Linked DNA regions of Homo sapiens: region 2 is linked to region 1. Evidence: promoter capture Hi-C in 16 types of primary human blood cells and fetal thymus (Javierre and others, 2016). All regions are on one chromosome and are shown on one strand. The core of a region is centred on a gene start or on the middle of the fragment in contact, and the rest is flanking DNA. Distances in the headings are between cores, read along the strand shown. Region 1 holds the start of SEC24B (SEC24 homolog B, COPII component). Region 2 overlaps EGF (epidermal growth factor).

Region 1 (3,811 bases), core at 740-3,239:
AAGACCTGAAGAAACCTGAGCGTTTTATACCAAGCTTGATGAAGAGTAGACTGTTATGGAAAACTGTGATAAGACAAAAAGATGGGCTAAGGGCAGTAAACTGGGGGAAACCTACCAAGGCCTATTCATTTAGATTCCTCTTGGCGTCTCTCTGTCTTCACAAATAAGACTGCTTCTTTTCTCCAGGTATAGAGAGGGCATCTCTCACATGAGGGTCTTATGACCTGCTTCATGGGAAGGTCAGAGTCCTCACACCTGCCATTTCTCAAATTCCATCAGCTTAAAACATTCAATATGCCAAGGTGTTATATTTTGGGGTAGTGTGCCCTGAACACCATCATAAACATGCTAGAAAAATTCTACAGCAAATTAGTGGACAAGGGGAAGGAGCTTAGGTATTAAAGATTGTGGAGAAGATCTATTAAAACACAGGGCCCCAATCCTCCTCTTAAGGAGTCTCCCCTTAAGAGACAGGGTTCACTTTCATCCCATATACTTCTGATTAAAAGGAGCCTCTTATACCCAGGAGAATACATTCCAGGTGCAGAAAGCCAATTACCTAGTTATTCCCTTACCCACGTAATTATAGACCTTAATCCAAATTCAAAGGACTCCTGGGAGATGCTGGAATCTGTAATTGTGTAATCTCTTTGATGAAGCACAGAGTGTGATCTTTTGCTCATGTGGGGCTAGGTTTCTGTGGAGAAGCTGGAAATGCTGTGGAAAAGGGCTTGCCCCTTTTGTGTATATGAACTCTAATGTAGTTGAAATTCCTAGAAGTCAAAGATATAAATCTAACTACTAAAATTCATTTAGTGCATTAAAATGCCAGTTATTAATTTACGGCAACAACTAAAGGGAAGCTTTGTATTATTCTAGGACTACAATGCAATTTATGCTTTGCATAATCATTCAGTAAATGACTTATTGCTCCAGAAATACCATCTTGCTAGATCCCATTCTGAATTCAGTGTTTCTGAGCAATCTCATCTCCAATACAGAGTGATGACATACTCAGGATTCCAAGACGGCAAAATGACTTGGGTAATGTAGTCTAGGGCCTGCCAGTGAGTATGCTGAGACAGACCAGAAAGACTTAAAGATTCCACTAATGTAGACAAAGCAAGCTGAGCCACAACTTCTCGGAACACCAACAGGATGCACCAACAATCGACAAAAAAAAAAAAAAAAAAGGAGATAAAGTTTAAAGTTTGTCTTCCAGCATTCCCTTACCCTATTTTCCCCTTCCTCTTCCCTACTTTATCAGTGGGAAAAGTTCTCAATAATGCAATTCTTACTGAGATTCTTGTGTTTATCAGAGAAATGTTTCCTCTTTCTTTGCCAAGGAATTATATATTCCCAACAGACATGGCGCTTGAATGCTATATTTCCTTTGGAATCAAGAAAGGGGAGGTGGGGGAATCAAAAATTAAAAACCAAACCCAAGCCATTGTTCCTCTTCGAGGAAGGGTGGGTGGTCAGTCGTCGCCTGAGCTCCGAACATCAACCCGCGGCTCTCAAGTTCCCCTCCCAGTAATGCTGGGCCCAGCCTCGCCGCGGCCGATCCAGCCTCTGCCCTAGGTGGAAGCGGGCCACCCGGTCCCTTCACCCACTGAGGCCCAGTCCTTTCGCCTCAACACGAAGGCACCTGGCCGGGCCGGAGCAGCAGCCGCGGGGCCGGCACTGGGGCCACGGAACCCCGGGCCAGACTCAGGCCTGGGCCAGCTCGGCTCCGGCCTGCAGGGGGCGCTGCGGCGGCACCGGCGCGAGGCCCGCGCGTGCGGGGAGCGACCCCAGGTGTAAGTCCCGGGGCGTGGGGCGCGTGGGTCAAGGCGGAGCGACCCAGGATCCCCGCGCCCGCGGCGGCCGCCGAGTGGCAGCGCTGGACTCGCGGAGAAGCTTGGGTACCTGAGCCGCGGTCCCGGGTGACACCCTCAGTGACGCCAGGCGCGTTCCTTCCTCTTCCTCTCTCCTCTCCGGCCCCGCCTTCCCTTCCCTCCGCCCACCTCCCTGAAGCGGAGCCGCCGTCGCCACCAGCGCCGTCATGTCGGCCCCCGCCGGGTCCTCTCACCCGGCCGCCAGCGCCCGGATCCCGCCCAAGTTCGGCGGAGCGGCCGTCTCAGGAGCCGCAGCGCCCGCGGGCCCGGGTGCGGGCCCGGCGCCGCACCAGCAGAACGGTGAGGCGGGCGGCCCGGGCGGAGCGCGGGGCCTAGCACCGGCTGGGCGGCCTGCACGGCCACATCGGGGCGGGGCGGGCCGGGCCGGGAAGGGCGTTCGGGGCCAGGCCCGGCCCGAGGGACGGGAGCGGGCGCGGTGCGGAGGCCGCGGGGTCCGGGTTGGGTGCGGGTAGGGGGCAGGGAAGGCACGGCGCGGGGCGCGCGGGGGTGGGACGCCCCTGGCGTGGGGGCGGGGGCCGGCCTGGGAAAGCTGGGGCCGTGGCTGTTTATGTAATGCGACCCCAGGCCCGAAACGGCCTCGGGCGAGTAGGGGCGACTGAAAAGCTGGGAGCCCACGTAGTAAAACCCAGTTACCTAGCCTGGACGCGGGCGAGTTGCCCCGAGCGACCCCTTGGCTGCGAGAGCTGGCCAGAAGCCGAGGCCGCTGAGTGCGTGGTCCGGAGAAGGCTGGTGCAGCCACCCAGCAGGGTGGATTGTGCCCTTCCTGTCTCAGGAAAATTGCTTCGGTTCCCGAGGCCCAGCGAACACGCTGCCTTGAGGAAACTTAAGTTTGCACTCAAGTTTGTAGACAAAAGGGTGTAAATATGCTATATAAGTGTAACTGTAACCCTGACCCAGTTCGGCCTCAAGAACTGTCATTGCCGCTGCGGCTGCTGCTCAAGCTTTTGGAGTTTGCTTGTAGTGTTTGAAAGGGAGCAGATGTAAACGGATTTAAACGAACATCTTTAGATCTGGGTGTTTTTCCTAGCTCCACTTTCAGAGATGAAAAAACGTGCCAGAGTTGGCCCTGCTTTGAGGCAGGGCCTTCATACAGGCAGCAGCCAAATGCAGCACGAAAGCCGCTTTCATATTAAGGTCGTGGGCTTTTAGTAGGCTGCAAAATGATGGATATGCATTCCCTAATGCTGAGATTTGGAATGTTCGCGGATAGGGGCCAAGGGTGGAGGAATTCTCCTTACAGACTTCTTAGTATGTCAGATGAGAACCTTGGAAAGTAATTGACTGAATTTAGAAAAATACCTCTGTCCTGTGTTGGTACGAGAACCAAACTGCATTAGTACTCTCCAGATGATTGACCTGTTTTATCTAATTTCCTAATGAAAATCTGCTGGACTTTATGAATTAGTTTAATCAACATCTAAGTTTTACAACTGATGCTTTTCAAACATGAAGTGTATCGTTTGTCCTGAGGATCAGAAGTTGAGTGATACTTTAGCCTTAATATTCTTTGGATCAGCCTTACCTATCAGTATTACATGCTGTACTCTCAGTAGTCATTGTTTACTATAATCGCTTTTGGATATAAACCTGTTCTGAACAAATGTAAAAATACTATTTGTGAGCAGTGTTTGTTCTTGTAACCTTAATATAAGTTCTTGTTTTTGTTTGTTTTTAAAATAGCTTTATGAAGGAACTAGAACACGATAATTTAGTAAAAGAGCCCAAGTCTTTTAGAACATTGTAGACTCATGTTTACCAGTGATTCAAGGATTGTGTCTTTCCTTGATTTTCTGAATATGCATTATCATCTTAGTGAACAGTTTTTAAAGTGGCAAATGTTTATTACAGCCTTATAAATTTTGTGAACACTCAAGAATGCCAGGATATGTACTCAGCCAAGTGTAATCAGGATG
Region 2 (3,811 bases), core at 846-3,345, 530 kb after region 1:
CTGATTCTGTAAAAATGCAGATTCCTGAGCCTCTGATTTACCAAATCAGAATCTCTAGAGGGTGGCATACTCTCCGGTTATCTCAATGTACACTAGGGACATTTTCAAGGGGGCAAGAATATGTTTCTACTGAATCTTACTGTTATTGGTCATGTCTAGTGATGTTAAATAAAATTTATGGGAGGCAACTGATTTAGACTGAGCTCCTGCAATAGGCCCCAACAGACCAAACCAAAATGAAGTCACTCATGCTAAAATTCCACATCAACACACCAAAACTAACTTGTTTATCTGACCCCCTGACGGATCAGGAGAGAGATGATAGCCAAATCCCCAAACAGGTCAGCTTTAACTGGTATCATAAGGAAATCCCATCTGGTTTAACCTTTACGAGGAAAGTAACCTGAAGTAAACTGATGTTAACCAATCCACTATATATATCATGCTCAAGCAATATCACAAAAGTGAATGTGCTGCCACAGCCAGTGTAGCATCTGTCTATTTTTAGACAAGATGTTGCCCAATTCATGAATCCCAAATAAAAGCCAATTTGATCATTTAATTAAATGTGTTGAAATTTTATCTTTTGAGATTTGAAGTAGAAGCAAATGGGTACAGACAAAGGAGACTTCTTTATTAGTAGATAAACAGATCAGAGAAACCAAGCCTATTTGGAGAACAGTCTCAGGCCCTCTGCCTGCTTTGCTCAGGCTCTTGCTGATTTGTTTCCTGTGTCCTTCCCAGCAATGGTGGTGTTCTCAGCAGTCCTTTCCTTAGGTCCTCAGCTTTTCCCATGATACATCAGCTCTAGCTGATTTTAACAATGCCATGGCTTCAGAATCCATGACCCCAATAGTTTTCCTTGGCCTTCACCTCTTGCCAGGCCTCTGGCCTCTGTATCTACCTGCATTCTAGGTATCTGCCCTTACGCTCAAGCTTGCTACTGTATTTCTCATAGTATTTTACAATGGTGCTATTGTTTTTAAAATGGGCAAAAAATAAGGTGCAAAAGAGACAAAAATCTCATTAACTTTTTGGAAAGAGATATGCAGTTGTCCCCCAGTATCCGTGGGGGATTGGTATCCCCCAAGATACCCAAATCTGCAGATGCTTAAGTTCTAATATAAAACGGTGTATTTGTATATAACCTAGCCACATCCTCCCATATACTTTAAATCATCTCCAAATTACTTATAATACCTAATACAATGCCTACATCACTTCATTCCTGTGAATTCAACATAGTGCTTGGCATGTGGCAAATTCATGTTTTGCTTTTTGGAACTTTGCTTTGTGGAATTTTTTTTCCCAAATATTTTCAGTCCTAAGTTGGTTGAATCCACAGATATGGAGGGCCAACTGTAGGTGTTACTAGTTTAGCCCTTGATTCTGGCTCTGAAAATCCCAATGGTACAAAATTGACCACTTATTCAATATAGCTGGCTAATTCAACCCAAACACCCAACTCGCTGAGCAGATTTTACTGTTTATTATGGAATATTTGGAACACGTGGGACACTGGCAGCAATAACTACAGAAATTTGAGGAGCAGAGATATGGCAATGGTATATATTGAGTCTGAAAGATGTTCATTAAATAATGATGTTAAAAACAGCTAAATAGCTTACATATCTAACCTATAAATATTACACTTAAAAAGTATTCTTGGCCAGGCACAGTGGCTCATGCCTATAATCCCAACACTTTGGGAGGCTGAGGTGGGCAGATCACTTGAGGTAGGAGTTCGAGACCAGCCTGGCCAACCCCGTCTCTACTAAAAATACAAAAATTAGCCAGGTGTGGTGGTGTGCACCTGTAATCCCAGCTACTTAGGAGGCCAAGGCAGGAGAATCGCTTGAACACAGAAGGCTGAGGTTGCAGTGAGCCAAGATTGTGCCACTGCACTCCAGCCTGGGTGACAGGGGGAGACCCTGTCTCAAAAAAAAAAAAAAAAAAAAAGTATTCTTAGGTTTGAATCTGTTTTCATTTCCTAAGCAGATTATTTCATTTGCAGAATGTGTGCTTTTTTGTGATAAAAGTACATTAGAATGAAAAAGCTAATAAGTAGTGTTTAGTATTCGCAACCTAAGAAATGACATCTCCAGCTAATCAGGATGCCCAATCCTGAGAGGTTTTGGAGAAGTAATACAATTGGAGAAAAAAGTGGGCTTCGGGATGCTGGGGAATCTGGGCTCTGGCTAAGTTTGCCTCCGTGAGAGATGCAGCTGTAGACGTTGTAGGGAGGTAAGACCTCTTAAGAATCAGGAAAAGATTTAGCAGTGTCCTCTGTCAAAACACGGCCCCACTCCAAATAAAGCATCTTCTCTTTTAGAGCAGAAACTTTGCAAATTGAGGAAAGGAAACTGCAGCAGCACTGTGTGTGGGCAAGACCTCCAGTCACACTTGTGCATGTGTGCAGAGGGATACGCCCTAAGTCGAGACCGGAAGTACTGTGAAGGTAATGACTGGAAGTACTGTGAAGGTAATGGAAGAGTCGCTGCTTGAGGGGAGGAATGCTCAACTGAGCCAGCGGCTTGTCTTCAGTGGGCCAGCCAGAGACTCAGTGGAAAACCAACTTCAAGTCCATTCTCCCCGTCCCCCACACAACCCCTGAAGACTATTTTTTATTTATTTTTTCTTGTTTGTAAAACCTTTATAATACTTTCCTATCTTCATATCTTGTGTTTCTAGATCAAACACTGAGAGGATGCTTAGGGGTTGATATAAGGCAGGGATTCTCTAAGTGGATTCTACCAACCTCTGCGTTTGTGTGCAAAATTTCAGTATGTGTACATTTTTAGGGGAGTGGTTTCATAGGGATCGTAAGAGTCTCAAAGAGTCTGTGACTCCTATCTTATCCCAAGAAGATCTAGTAGGAAGCCTGGGAAACTGAGCCAGGCTGGTTTGTCTAAGAATCCTCCTGTTTTGAGATTCTGGACCAAGTGCAACGAACTCAGGAGAAATACTATGTCCTTTTTCCTGGAAGGTGCAGTAGTTTAGTGATGAAAAGAATCCAATGGCTGCAGCACACATACAGTGGAATTAGCTGGGGTGAGACCTCAGGTAAATCTAGCATCTGCCTGTTAATTATAACCCCCTGCTTACATGGGACCAATGGGTGAAAGCCATGGCATAGAGATAGTGAGCTGGAAGGCTGGGGCTTCAGCCAGAATAAAACTGCTGGAGAAGGTTTCCACATTTAGGGAAAGGGCTCTGGTCAGTCTTGAAGGTTGAAGAGCACAATAGGAAATGTCCTAAGCTTGTAAAGAGCTTTCAAGAGTCCCTAACTGAAATGGCATGCTATATCTTTTCAAGGGAAATAATACTACCTTTTTCCCAAGGGTTATTCTAATATGAAAATCTGTATTTGAAAGTATAAGCTGGGCCAGGCGTGGTGACTCACACTTGTAATCTCGGCACTTTGGGAAGCCAAGGCGGGCAGATCACTTGAGTCCCAGAGTTCAAGATCAGCCTGAGCAATGTAGCAAAACCCCATGTCTACAAAATATACAAAAATTAGCTGAGTGTTGTGGTGTGCACCTGTAGTCCCAGCTACTCAGGAGGCTGAGGTGGGAGGATCACTTGAGCTTGGGAAGCAGAGGTTGCAGTGAGCTGAGATCGTGGCATTGCACTCCAGCCTGGGTGACAGAGCCAGACTCTATCTCGGGGAAAACAAAAGCATAAAATGTGACAGAATAGAAATGGCTTTTATCATCATTTAATTGACTTATTTTACCCTTTGCTAGAGTATGGAAAACAGACTTTCCATGATCAATTACAGCATATACAAGTGTGAGATACCCTGCGTTGT

The links. Contacts are between HindIII fragments. The CHiCAGO score rates a contact against its expected background, and 5 or more counts as called.
Region 2: a contact is called between a fragment that was not itself captured here and the fragment with the promoter of SEC24B in region 1, in 1 of 17 cell types (M2 macrophages). The highest score is 5.4, in M2 macrophages.

Annotation. Positions count from the first base shown.
Region 1 is chr4:109,431,826-109,435,636 of GRCh38, forward strand. It overlaps SEC24B (SEC24 homolog B, COPII component), which reads left to right and starts at 1,990. Exons shown (of 24, transcript NM_006323.5): 1 at 1,990-2,177. The coding sequence starts at 2,045. SEC24B-AS1 (SEC24B antisense RNA 1) reads right to left here and starts at 1,992. Exons shown (of 3, transcript NR_039978.1): 1 at 1,909-1,992. RefSeq lists silencers at 1,620-2,009, 2,060-2,329, 2,708-3,002 and enhancers at 1,884-2,743, 2,820-2,969. The HindIII fragment of the contact is 940 bases long and covers 1,898-2,837 here.
Region 2 is chr4:109,956,980-109,960,790 of GRCh38, forward strand. It overlaps EGF (epidermal growth factor), which reads left to right. Exons shown (of 24, transcript NM_001963.6): 6 at 2,333-2,458. Among named protein-coding and RNA genes, the nearest start is that of EGF, 46 kb to the left of the region's middle. RefSeq lists an enhancer at 2,142-2,311. The HindIII fragment of the contact is 2,323 bases long and covers 935-3,257 here.